Linked DNA regions of Homo sapiens: regions 1, 3 and 4 are each linked to region 2. Evidence: promoter capture Hi-C in 16 types of primary human blood cells and fetal thymus (Javierre and others, 2016). All regions are on one chromosome and are shown on one strand. The core of a region is centred on a gene start or on the middle of the fragment in contact, and the rest is flanking DNA. Distances in the headings are between cores, read along the strand shown.

Region 1 (3,304 bases), core at 1-2,500, 410 kb before region 2:
GACAGAGTGTCCTCCAGCCTGGGAAACAGGCGTGGAGGCCTGAGCTATGTCCTGGGACCTGGGGGAGGGGAACGGGCCCAGACAAAGAAAGCTGTACTTTCCCAGCAGAATGGCACGGCTTGGAGGAGGGGAGAGCCTGCTGGCCGACTTGGCCTGTCCAGCTGCATCTGTCACTCTGTGGTTTTTTGAGCCTGAGCCTGGGTGGCAGGCCAGCCCCAGCCCATCCTCTCCTGACTCCTGCTGCCACCCATGCAGCCTCGCTTTAATCCATTTGTGTATTGGGCTTCTACCTAGGATCTAATTTCAAGATAAGGTTGTGCTGTTTATAAAAGACTGAAAAATACTCCAGCAGAGATTCTCAAAGGCCCCACCCAGTGCACTTGGAGATTCAATGCAAAAGGCTGTTCCAGGAAAATGCTCCAAATAGAGAGATGGCTCCCTTTCCTCTCCTGTTGGGTGTGCGTGTTCCCCCTTGCAGTTTGCTGCTGCCACAGCTGTCTTTCAGACACCCCTTAGGTACTCATGCAGTTTCCTGTAGATGTGATGTCAAAACGATTAAATTCATCAAAATGAATGAAAGTCTGGTAAAGGGGATAGGGCGCAAGCACAGTGTTGAGATCTGCAGTGGAATTCTGTGAGTGATCCTGGAGCTCAGGAAAAACAGGTCTTCTTGCGGTGTTGGCTCTGAGAACCAGAGAGACCAAGTGACTTTTGTGGGAGCCATAGGCTCTTGGCCCCTTAAAGTTTCACTAAAAATCACAGACATGAGGCAGATTGATTAATAGGAGAAAAGTCATACACATGTACTTAAGGTGCATGCATGGGAGCCTTCAGAATGATGGTCCAGCTTCCCAGTGAGTAACAGAGACTTATATACCATTTTGAGGTTACAGAAAGAATGGGGCTTAGATTCTGGTGAAACAGGCTATGGAAGGAGGAGAGGCTTGGCTAGTGAAAGTGACCTTGTTATGTAGATGAAGCCTCCCTCAAAGAGACTTTTAAAGGTGTGGATTCTCAGTCTCTCCTGGATGTGGGGAAAGATCTGGAAAGGGGAGGGGGCCTGGCTGCATTAATGGAGATTCTCTACAGATGCAAATTTTCCCACTGAAGACACTCTGCTAGCCACTTCTTTCAGGATGGGCAAGTGGCAGCCATTTAAGAATACGTCAAAGAAATATATGTTGGGGATAAAATATTTTCATCTCCTTCCCTTGCTTAGGGCCATGAAGCTAATGAGTGCTGGAGGACACAGAAATGTGTGCCTCTCTCAAAGGAGAGACTCTCTTTGTGTGGAGCCAAGGTTCCCACCCTGTAAGGCTCAGGACCCAGCCCAGCAAGCTGGAAAAACCTCCTTTTGCTGCAGTGGGCCCTGAGCCACCTCCCTTAGCTTTGCTCGCTGACCCCCCTGCCCTCCCCTGGGATGGTGTGCCCCGTTCTCTGCCCCAGCTGTTTACCCTACAAGCCCACCTTGCCCTTTATCCCTTCACTTTGCCATCTGCAGCCTAGGACTCTCCTTTACTTTCCTCCTGGTCTGTCTCCTCTGAGCAGGTGCCCCCAGCTGGTGCCATTCAGTCATGGCCGGAGACACTCAACACGTTGGTTGTGTCCTATAAATAAGCAGGCGTGCAGGGGAAAAGCACTCCTGAAGGCCAGTGAGGGAGAACCATGCTTTTCAAGTAGTATTACCCAGAGCTCTAGAAGATGAGGCTCTCTGCCACCACCACCTCACTGTCAACCACGGCAATCCCCTTTAATCTGTTTTGCATACATTTTCTATTTGAACAAAGAGTTCCACAGTTAAGAAAATTTCAAACCCATTGGAGGTCAATATTCTTGTTGTACAGATGGGAAAATTAAGGCCCAGAGAGGAGAAGGCATGCAACGAAGCACCCCAGAGCTCTTTAGGAAGCATTTTCTATGAATAAGTAACCACTGCCTGACTTATGGGAAATTCCACTTCTAAGTGTTCCTACTACATATGGCAAAATGAACTTCTTCCCCACACACTATAGGAGACCGGAAGTAAATGTAAATCATGCCGTGTCGTGAATCAGAAGTCACAAACTGGAGCCTCACTGTCCAGTGGACTAGGAGAGGTCCCCAAACACTGGTGGGACTTCGACCCCAGCTGATGTCCAGGCTCTTGACTCCTTGAATTCCTTCCCATATGAGTCAGAAAATAGTGAAAGTACACACTCAAGAAGGGAGAGTGTGCAAGGGGGTTGGGAGCTGCTTCCTTTATGGGTTTCTTTAACCAAGGGGTGCAATATCCAAGAAGATTCCTGGAAAAAGGTGGAACTTTCTTGAAACTGTGGTGCCACCCATTTTTACATGAAATATGGGTGTTCTGGAACTGTCATGGTGCCTGTGGGTGTGTAATTTAGCATCTCAGAGAGTTGCCTGGTTAATGAGCGTATAGTGAGGTCCTAGAAGAAACCTAGGTCGAATCCAGCACCACGTTGGTTTCAGTTGGTCTTAGCCAGCTTGGCCCACACTCTGATTTTTTTAGAGTCTTATGACCCCTAGCTTCTTATGACCCTTATTTTAACAGTTTCCTTTTGCTGGTCATGTGAAATGGCTGCCTAGAATTTTCTATTCTCCTGTGACCATCTGTATTATTCCTGTCTCACCACTAGGTGTATCTGTCTTGCAAAGATGTTTAGTTTATTTATAAACATATTTAAATACAAAATATTACATTAAATATTTGTTGTTTTGATTGGATTATGTATTGCATGAGACTTGGTCTGGGTTATGCTGCAGTAACAAATCCCTGATACACCAGTGGCTTGTCACGGCAGAGGTTTATTTCTCCCTCTCAGTCCATATCCAGTGTGGGTTGGCAGACAGTTCTGGTCCACAGTCACTCAGGGACCCAGGCTGACCATCGAGTAGCTGCACATGGCTTGAAACACATGGCTTTCTGGGTCACCACGGTGGAGACAGGAGAACTGGAGGGTTGTGCACTGGCTCTTAAAGCTGCTGGCCTGGAAGGGACCCACAACACTTTTGTTCGCAGCTCAGTGGTCAGAATGAGGCCCACAGCCCCAGCTAGCTGCAGAGGGCCGGGGTGGTGAGCGACCACACGGGCATTCCAGGGACAGTGCATGCCTCTGCCAGCCAGCCACCTTTCAGTAGTGAAATATAGCCCAGAAAAATCCAGATTCCTGGCTTCTTATGAAACGCCAAAAGAGTTGCCCCGTCGAAGAAGGAATGTGCCCCCCATTCCCCATGGACCCCGTGACGAATGTCCCTCAGCGGAGTCACCTCCGTGGCCATTGGAGACTTTTATATTATTTATTCC
Region 2 (3,094 bases), core at 541-3,040:
TTTATATGGAATCTCAAAGGATCCAGAATAACCAAAACAATATTGAAAAATAAAGAACAGCGTTGGTGGATTAACATTTTCCAATTTCAAAACTTACTATAGCACTGCGGTAATCAAGCAGTGTGGCACTGTATAGCATGTACATTACAGATCAGTGGACTAGAATCAATGTCCAGAAATAAACCGTTATGTTTATAATGAATTACTTTTTAATAAGGTGTCAAGACAACGCAATGGGAAAAGAATAATGAATTCAACAAATGATGCATGGACAACCGGACATGCACATGCAACACAATGAATTTGAATTCTTCTATCGCTCCATGCATAAAAACTAACTCAAAATGGGTCACGGATGTAAATGAAAAGCTAAAACTATAATAATCCTAGAGGAAAACCTAGGAGTAAATCTTTAAGATGTTATTGTAGGCAGTGGTTTCTCAGATAGGACCCCAAAATCACAAGCGACAAAAGAAATTGGACTTAAAGTTAAATACTTTTGTGCTTCAAACATCATCAAGAAAGTGAAAACACAACCCGCAGAAGCAATAAAAATGTCTGTAAGTCATGTATCCGATTAGAGACTTCTATCCAGGATATATAAATAATGCAATTCAATGATAAAAAAGATAAATAGCCCAGTTTTCCAAAGAGTCAAGCATCTGAATATACATCTCTCCAAAAATATACAGATATCCAACAAGCATGTGAAAAGATGTTCAAAGCCATTTGCCAGGTGCACAAACCCAAGACAGTATGAGGAGATGCTACAGGGACTCTGCTGCTTCACAGACATGAAGCGTTGGTGAGAATGTAGGCAGCCGCCTTTGGGGACTTCACATCCCCGCCGCCCCACGCACGGTGAGCTAGTGTTTAAACTTAGCCGAGATCAATACACGCGACTGTGTGCCCGTCAGACCCTGCGCTGCCGGCGGGGCTGGGAGAGGCGGGCGCCAGGAGTGGGCGGGAACCTGGGGGTCAGGCCCCAGCCGCGGGAAGCCGCCCAGGAGCGCGCGAAACCTTCTCCACACCCTTCCAGGCATTTGCCCGCCGCGATTCAGAGAGCCGACCCGTGACCCCTGGCCTCCCCTAGACAGCCCCGCATGTCCAGATGTGCCGTCCCGCCTGCCTCCCGCGACCACTGGCCATCTCTGGGCCTGGGCGCGGTCTCGGCGCCCGCCTGCCCCCGCCAGGAGCCGCAGGTCCAGCCAGTGAAGAAGCCCGCGCTGAAGGAGCCTCTGTGCTCCAGAATCCATCCTCAGTATCAGCGCTGGGGTGGCCTCCTCCAGGAAGCCCTTCTGATTCTCTCATGGGTCGCTCTTCCTCTGCAGACTCCCGGAGCACCCCTGCTCCAAGTACCGCAAGTGGCACTGAGAACTTGGGGAGAGCAGAGGCTGTGCCTAGATTTGTAGGGAGTCCCCGCAGCTCCACCCCAGGGCCTACAGGAGCCTGGCCTTGGGCGAAGCCGAGGCAGGCAGGCAGGGCAAAGGGTGGAAGCAATTCAGGAGAGAACGAGTGAACGAATGGATGAGGGGTGGCAGCCGAGGTTGCCCCAGTCCCCTGGCTGCAGGAACAGACACCTCGCTGAGGAGAGACCCAGGAGCGAGGCCCCTGCCCCGCCCGAGGCGAGGTCCCGCCCAGTCGGCGCCGCGTGAAGAGTGGGAGAGAAGTACTGCGGGGGCGGGGGCGGGGGCGGGGGCGGGGGCGGGGGCAGCCGGGAGCCTGGAGCCAGACCGGGGCGGGGCCGGGACCGGGGCCAGGGACCAGTGGTGGGAGGAGGCTGCGGCGCTAGATGCGGACACCTGGACCGCCGCGCCGAGGCTCCCGGCGCTCGCTGCTCCCGCGGCCCGCGCCATGCCCTCCTACACGGTCACCGTGGCCACTGGCAGCCAGTGGTTCGCCGGCACTGACGACTACATCTACCTCAGCCTCGTGGGCTCGGCGGGCTGCAGCGAGAAGCACCTGCTGGACAAGCCCTTCTACAACGACTTCGAGCGTGGCGCGGTGAGCGCGGGCGGGGCACGGGTGGAGCGCGGGCTGAGGTGCGTCCGGGACCCGGTTTGGACGGCAGAGGCCTGGGCGGGGGCGCCGAGGGCCCGTCGGGGCGGCCCGGACAGGACTGGGGGTGTCCAGGACCCTGTCAGGGAGGGCAGAACTGCGGTGGGGCGTGCCCTGGGCTCCCAGTGGCCGGTGGGTACCCTGGTGGGCAAGCGTCCAGGACCCCTCGCGGCGGCCGCGACCCCTGTCGGAAACGGAGACTTCCCGCGTGCCGCCTGCAAGGCGTCTTCCCTGGGAGGAGAAGGCCCAAGGTTTCCCCTCCACTTCAAGATCTGGGCTCCGAGGCTCCGGAGCCCCCTTCACTGGGCCGCGTTTCTTGTGCCACCTCTTCCTTAGGCTCCTTCTGCAGGTCGCACAGGGAGGGAGAGGCAGATGAGTCATGCTCACAGAACTCTGAGGGCACCTCGGAGCAGCCAGCTGTGAGCCGTGGGGAAGGGTGCACGTCAGCGGGTCCAGAGGCCTGAGTTCTGTCCAGACATGACCACCAGCTCACTCTACCGTCTGTCTGGGCCTCAGTTTCCCCAGCTGAAAATGGAGGGTTGGCTTCAGTCTGGTCCATGAGTCATGGGTGAGCCCAGGCCCATCTGGTGGCTCAGACGGCACCTGGGCAGCTTACATTCTCAGGACAGTCCCCAGAGGAAATTAAAGGGAAGGAACAGAACCCAGGCCAGGAGAGGCTTTTCCTAAATGGAGGGGCTGCACTCCCTCCCAGCAGAATGTACACCAGGGAACACTTCCACGCTAGGTGTGAGGACGCGAGGGAGCCCTCAGCATTTGGAAGCTAGTTCCTAATGCTGATCTGGACCTGAATTCCAGCCCCACGACTCTTTTCCATGAGCATGGGCAGGTCGCAGTTCTCACTGAGCCTTTAATGAAGTGCCTAATCCAGTACCTGGCACAGAGGAAGCGCTCCGTAAATGACTGGTAATAGTCCCAGACATACTGCAGGTGCGCAGGGAATATCAGTTCCCTTCCACCCCACCCCAGCTCCTAACTGGACCAAAAAGATTTAGACTTTACCAAGCTGCCTTCTCAC
Region 3 (3,600 bases), core at 521-3,020, 390 kb before region 2:
TTTTTTTATTTGAGATGGAGTCTCACTCTGTAGCCAGGCTGGAGTGCAGTGGCACGATCTGGGCTCACTGCAACCTCCACCTCCTAGGTTCAAGCGATTCTTCTGCTTCCTGAGTAGCTGGGACTACAGGTGCGCACCACGATGCCTGGCTAATTTTTGTATTTTTTGTAGAGACAGGGTTTCACCATATTGGCCAGACTGGTCTTGAACTCCTGACCTCGTGATCCGCCCGCCTTTGCCTACCAAAGTGCTGGGATTACAGGCGTAAGCCACTGCACCTGGCCCTCTCTTCCATATTTCTTTGGACAAGAAAGCCTAATCCTAATCCTGGCTTTCTGTATAACTCAGTCATTCTGCACCTCAACTAGAATCGAGCTGGGGGAAGCAGGTCGAGGTTGAGTCTGACTCTGGCACAGCGTGCTTCATTTTATTGTGCTTCTTGTTACTGTACCTTGCAGATTTTTGCAAATGGAAGGTTGCTGTTCAGCAACCTTCCATTTGCAAAAATGTGCACTTTTTTTTTTTTTTTTGCTGCACCTGCGGTTTCTGCAAATTGAAGGTGTGTGGCAACCTTGTGTTGAACAAGTCTATCGGTGCCGTTTTCCAACACTATGTGCTCACTTTGTGTCTCTGTGTCAGATTTTTTAGCAATAAAGTAGTTTTAATTAAGGCATGCATATTTTTTAGATGTAGTACTGTCTCACCCTTAAGAAACTACAGTATAGTATAAACATATCTTGTATATGCCCTGGGAAACCAAAACATTTGTGTGACTCACTTTATTGAGATATTCGCTTCATTGTGATGGTCTGGACCTGAACTCACAATGGCTCCCAGGTGTGCCTGGACTTATCAGAGCGGGGATACTGAATAGGTCCTTGAGCTCTCTGAGCCTTAGCTACCTCCTTGGGAAAACAGAGCTAGGATCTCAGAGGAGGAATATGCGAATCTAAACTTGAGTTTGAAAAGCAAGGAGAGGTTCACCTGCAGAGGAGTCACATTCGCTGGGAGGCACCAGCACCAGGGGGGTAACATGTAGGTTTTCAGGAATCATGGAATCCTTTGAGTCAGGGCTCTGTCTTTTCTAGGTGGGTAACTCTGAACAAGCTGGTTAACCTCCTAAAGCCTCTGATTCCTTTCTAAGAAAAGGGGACTAGTTATAGCTGCCTCAAAGGGTTGTTATGAATATTAAATCAATGATTGTATGTAAAATCTTAGCGGGTTCAATACACAGCTAGGGTTTATTGAGGACGGACCTATTATGTGTCAGGCAGAGTCCTGGTTGATTTCATATATGGTGTCTCTTAGGCAAAGGCAAGATACCTGCAAAAATATAATGTGTCCCCCCACCCCCCAGCCAAATTGTGAAGAAGCTCTGTGACTGGAGCACATGGTGCTTGTTAGGCAACCATAGTGTCATACGTGCGAGACAATGAGAAGAACTACAGATGTTATTGCACAGTCCCCAGGAAGCCTTCAGATACTTTTAGACCCGCGCTTTCAAACAGTGCTTCTCACATTGAACTGCACAGATCGCTTCGCCTTGTGTTCTACAGACGCAGACTCTGATTCAGATGGTATGGAGCAGGGTAGGGAAGGGAGCCGAGACTGTATGGATGCAGCTGGGCTAGACGTCACTTGGAGGTGCAAGGGTTTTAGAAGTCCGTTCCTGTAGGCAGCGGTGCAGACTACGGATTAGAGGGACTGAGACCAGAAGGGAACAAGCTGGGAAGCTGATATGGTGTGATCAGTGCCTCTACTAGGCACTGCTGGGAGAATGAAGAGGAGGAGACAGATTGGGTAACTTTCAGCCTTAGAATCAACAGACAACTGGTGACTTAATCAATAGAAAGAGTGATGGAGAGACTGATTCCCCCACCCTTGTGAATGACTTCCATGGCCCTGGTTCCTCGGGTCCAGAGAGCTGGCCCTTCTGGGTGTGTAGACATCTTCCTTAGGCCTCTGGAAGGAGTGCACTACTACAGCTTCCCGGAGTGTCTCCCAGGTCTGGGAACAGCTTATGTGTGCATCAGCGTGAATGGACAGGTGCAGGTGTTCCCAGATCTCAGCGTCACCTGCTGCCTTGGTCTGTTCACCGTTGTGATGTCAGTCCCTTGTCCCCTCTGGGCCTGACCTGAACTTCTCTCCCTTCCTGGTACAGACCTCCGTGTTTACTCCAGCCTATGGATCCGTGACCAATGTGAGGGTCAACAGCACCATGACAACCCTGCAGGTGCTCACCCTGCTGCTGAACAAATTTAGGGTAAGCCTGGTCAGGAGCAGCCTTGCCCCAGGATGCCAGTGGTCTGCTATTCTGTTGGGGGTGGGGTTCTGGGGAAAGCTGCCCGTGGCAGAAGCTGCCTGGGCAGAAGGTCTAGCAAGGGTCCCTCTGCTGAGCTTTGGTTTCTCGGATTTCAAGCAAGAGGAGGTTGGGAGAGGACAGGTTCCTTGCAACTTGCGTGTGTGTTACTGGGGGTGTAGTTACTGTCAGGGGACCCTCTCAGTTCTCTCCCATCTCCAAGCACCGTGATCTGACTTCCTGTGACTGCCTGTGCAGGTGGAAGATGGCCCCAGTGAGTTCGCACTCTACATCGTTCACGAGTCTGGGGGTAAGTACCTGCCCCACTTCTGGATCGTAAAAGCAAAAGGTCTCTACCTGTTCAGCAAGCCCCCTCCCCACCAACCACTGACTGTACTCCCTTCCAGATGGGCTCCGTGCTGGCTTGCCTAGTGGGCTAGGGCACACTGTGCCTCCCAGCATGAACATTTCTCCCCCACCCAAACCCAGGCACACTATGGAAGCCTTGAGGAAAAGAAAACATACTTTTGGCTTCGAATTTAAAGCACATTAAAATGTCCTTGGATTTTCTAGGTCGCTCAGTACATTAAGTTTAATTCTTTCAGGATTCTGAAGGAGAATCCCACCAAGCTATAGGAAGCCTCCCTCTCCGCCTCTTCCAGAGAAATGGATGGGTGGGTACCTAGCTCCTTGGCGCCGAGTCAGGAAGGGTGGGGTGCGTGTCGCAGTGCATCAGGCCCTGGCCCTCCCGTCTCAGCTTTCCTTTCTCCCACCCCTCAGATCTTGTTTCTCTTCAAGCTGCACCTTTGCTGAATGACACTGTAGGGGAGGAAAATTATCTTCTCTTTCTACCCATTTAGGTTCACTGGCTGGGGCCCTGTATTTAGATTAACAAAAGACAGATTAAGGAGAAGAACAAACAGAAGTTTGTTAACACTTGCATCATGCATGCCCTTTGGAATATCCAGGGATGAATGGTCAGAATTTGGGCTTAAATAGCATATTCACAAAAGAGCAGTAAGTTTTTAGAGAAGTGACAAGACAGAGGAGAAGGGCCTGAGTTTCTGGGGAGGCGAAGGGTGGGAAGGTCACCGCACGGGGAGCTGCGGGAAGGGAAGGGCTTCAGCGGGACGTGCTGTGCAGGTTCCTCTGGTGCCCTCTCCAGGCTGAGGAGGGGCTCGGGTTGTCTCTGGTGATTAACTCCATCATTGCCTAGAGAGGGACGGGGGCACACCTTGACAAATTTATGTCCTGCTTTTTGGCAAATAGGGGAGGGCAAAGAGCCTCACTTGTATCTTCTT
Region 4 (3,138 bases), core at 431-2,930, 260 kb after region 2:
TGTTTACAAATTATATTCATGTATTAAATTATCACATGTACCCTGAAAATATATCTATTACGTATCAATGAAAATAGGAAAATACAAAAATAGAAGAAAAACCTACAATTAATATCATACATAATGGTAAAAACAAATAAAAATGTTAAGTCTAAAGAAAAGGGTTTGAACATCGAAAAATTCAAGAATTACTGTACCTACAAGCCTTTCTTGAGGACTTCAGATGAGCTTCTTCTAACCAAAATGTATGGGGAAACCTACAGCAAAAAGACTGATCATAAGAATGGAATACAATTGGCCGGGCATGGTGGCTCATGCCTGTAATCCCAGCACTTTGGGAGGCCAAGGTGGGTGGATCACAAGGTCAGGAGTTCGAGACCAGCCTGGCCAACATGGTGAAACCCCGTCTCTAGTAAAGATACAAAAAAAAAATTAGCCGGGTGTGGTGGCACACGCCTGTAATCCTAGCTACTCAGAAGACTGAGGCAGGAGAATTGCTTGAACCCAGGAGGCACAGGTTGCAGTGAGCCAAGATCGTGCCATTGCACTCCAGCCTGGGTGACAGGGCAAGACTCCATCTCAAAATAAATAAGTGAATAAATAAAAAGGATGGAATAAAATTAAAACTAAAATAAGAGTGAGTAGAAAGAAAAATGATTTGTAAAGGCTATGTTTTCTTTAAAAAAGTAGAAAAAAATTTTTAATGAGAGGATGAAGAGAGAAGAGAAAAAAATAAGTTCACTGATTTTCACTTAGTAATTAGGAGTCAAAGGATATTTAAAGCTGGCAAATAAAAGAGGAGAAGGTTAAATAAGGAAAAGGCAGATCAAGAACATGATAAATAGTATTAATGTAAAGTGAATCAATAAAACAAAATGCAAAAGCCTTCTGAAATACCAAAAAATACACCCTTACACATTCATATATACAGATACACACAAAAGAAAGCATAGAGAAGGAAACTGTAAGTATAACAAAATAAGACATTTAAGACCAAATATGAAGTCATATCAATAAATATAAACGTGATTAAGTTACCTGTTTTAAAATTTCAAGCTGGCTCACAAAGCAAAAACCAACTCTATAGTGTATATAAAGGAAATATGTAAAACAAAGTAACTTAAAAGTTAATAAATAGAGACATGGGAAAAGGTATACCAAGCAAATGAAACCAAGAAGATACCAGTAGGTATGGGCCTGATATCAGGCAAGGAAAATTCAAGGGGAAAGTCAGTGAATGTGATAGAGATGAAACATTTCACTACTTTTGTAACTAGCAACACAGTGAAAATATGTTATTAATATTTATGTACCAAATTACACAACTACCACTTTCTTACAGCAAAAAGTATGAGAAATGAAAAGAGAAATACACAGAAACCTATGAATAATAGACCTTCATCTATTACCATTCTCATTCTAAGACAGATCAAGTTGACAAAAAAAAAAAAAAACTTTAATAAGGTCTATCTTATAAATATCTAGCAAACTTTTACCTTTTTGATAGAGAATAAACTGTCTTCTGAGGTATATATTCATGAAAAGTGCTATTAGATCCCAAAGAATAAAATGCTATAAAGTAGAAATACAAACAATATTCTCTGAGTTCCATGCAATAAAACTAGAAATTAAAAACAATGAAAAATCAAGCCCGGCATGGTGCTGCACACATAGTCCCAGCTACGTGGGAGGCTGAAATGAGAAGATCCCTTGGTCCCAGGAGTTCAGTAACATAGTGAGACTCCCACCTCTAAAAACAAGAAAAGAAAAGAAAAAGAAAAACCAAAAAGCCTCTGCCACCAGAACATTTTCAAAATATATTAAAATACTCTTGGACTAATGAGGAAATACCAACTAAAATTGCAAATTTTCTTTAAAAAAAAAAACGAAAAAGAAACTACTACAAATTAACATTATGTGCCTTCTGATGTGTTGCACTGAGAAGAATAAATCATCTGTGTAGTATTCCTACCAAAAATGTTCAAATTCCATCTAATCATAATGAAACAGCCAAATCTCCAAATTGAAGAATATTTTACAAAACAACTGATCTATATTCTTCAAAAATATTTTACATGCATGTCCAAATAAGGCTTAGAAACAGTTTTGTATAAAAGGAGACTATGAAAACATTACAACGAAATGCAATGCATCATTCTTGATTGGATCCCAGATTAAAAACAATATAAAATGCTATTAAGCACATTATTAAGACCTGGGAAATATGAATATAGATGACATAATGTGTATCAATCATAAATGAGTATGGTAACTGTATCATAATCATGTAAAAGGTGGCCCTTATTCTTAGGAGATACATAATAAATAAAGTACTTAGGGGAAGTGTCATGATATCTAACTTGCACATAGATCAGCTAAAGAAAAATCCAAACAGAAAGCAAATGTGGGAAAATATTAATTGATGAATCTAGTCTTATAACATTTCTAAATAATTAAACATTTCTCAGCCAGGCGCGGTGGCTCATGCCTGTAATCCCAGCACCTTGGGAGGCCGAGGCAGGCAGATCACGGGGTCAAGAGATCAAGACCATTCTGGCCAACATGGTGAAACCCCATCTCTATTAAAAATACAAAAATTAGTTGGGCATGGTGGCTCATGCCTGTAGTCCTAGCTACTGCTACTCGGGAAGCTGAGGGAGGAGAATCGCTTGAACCCAGGAGGTGGAGGTTGCAGTGAGCCGAGACCACACCACTGCACTCCAGCCTGGGCAACAGCAAGACTCCATCTCAAAAAAAAAAAAAAAGAATTAAACATTTCTCAAAATTAAAAAGGTAAAATAAGTTTTCAGACAAATGCTGAGAGAATTATCATCAGGAACCCTAAATGAAAAGAAGTACTAGTACTAGAAGTCCTAGCTGGAGAAATCAGACAAGAGAAAGAAATAAAGGGCATACAAATTTGAAAGAAGGAAGTCAAATTATCCTTGATTGCAGATAATATGATCTTGTATTTGGAAAAACAGAAAGACTGCACCAAAAAACGATTAGAACTGATAAACACATTCAGTAAAGTTGCGGGATACAAAATCAACATACAAAACCCAGTAGCATTTCTATATACCAACAATAATCTAAAAAAATCAAGAAAGTAATCTCATTTACAATAGCTACAAATAA

Evidence for each region. The method cuts DNA at HindIII sites, captures the fragments that hold promoters and counts their contacts. A CHiCAGO score of 5 or more calls a contact.
Region 1: a contact is called between a fragment that was not itself captured here and the fragment with the promoter of ALOX5 in region 2, in 1 of 17 cell types (M0 macrophages). The highest score is 5.3, in M0 macrophages.
Region 3: a fragment that was not itself captured here is called in contact with the fragment with the promoter of ALOX5 in region 2 in 1 of 17 cell types (erythroblasts); the score reaches 5.1 in erythroblasts.
Region 4: a contact is called between a fragment that was not itself captured here and the fragment with the promoter of ALOX5 in region 2, in 1 of 17 cell types (total B cells). The highest score is 5.2, in total B cells.

The regions. Positions count from the first base shown.
Region 1 is chr10:44,964,314-44,967,617 of GRCh38, forward strand. The region is part of intron 1 of RASSF4 (Ras association domain family member 4); the gene reads left to right. It overlaps LOC105378281 (a long non-coding RNA gene), which reads right to left. Exons shown (of 2, transcript XR_945915.4): 2 at 2,786-3,304. Among named protein-coding and RNA genes, the nearest start is that of RASSF4, 6.2 kb to the left of the region's middle. RefSeq lists enhancers at 1-26, 37-96, 217-316, 1,688-1,957, 1,968-2,262. The HindIII fragment of the contact is 4,203 bases long and covers 1-3,304 here.
Region 2 is chr10:45,372,426-45,375,519 of GRCh38, forward strand. It overlaps ALOX5 (arachidonate 5-lipoxygenase), which reads left to right and starts at 1,791. Exons shown (of 14, transcript NM_000698.5): 1 at 1,791-2,004. The coding sequence starts at 1,855. RefSeq lists enhancers at 1,559-2,169, 2,170-2,778. The HindIII fragment of the contact is 7,754 bases long and covers 1-3,094 here.
Region 3 is chr10:44,987,113-44,990,712 of GRCh38, forward strand. RASSF4 (Ras association domain family member 4) reads left to right here. Exons shown (of 11, transcript NM_032023.4): 7 at 2,162-2,263; 8 at 2,558-2,609. Among named protein-coding and RNA genes, the nearest start is that of DEPP1, 10 kb to the left of the region's middle. The HindIII fragment of the contact is 6,881 bases long and covers 1-3,600 here.
Region 4 is chr10:45,631,777-45,634,914 of GRCh38, forward strand. All of the region lies in intron 6 of ZFAND4 (zinc finger AN1-type containing 4), which reads right to left. Among named protein-coding and RNA genes, the nearest start is that of ZFAND4, 39 kb to the right of the region's middle. The HindIII fragment of the contact is 5,595 bases long and covers 1-3,138 here.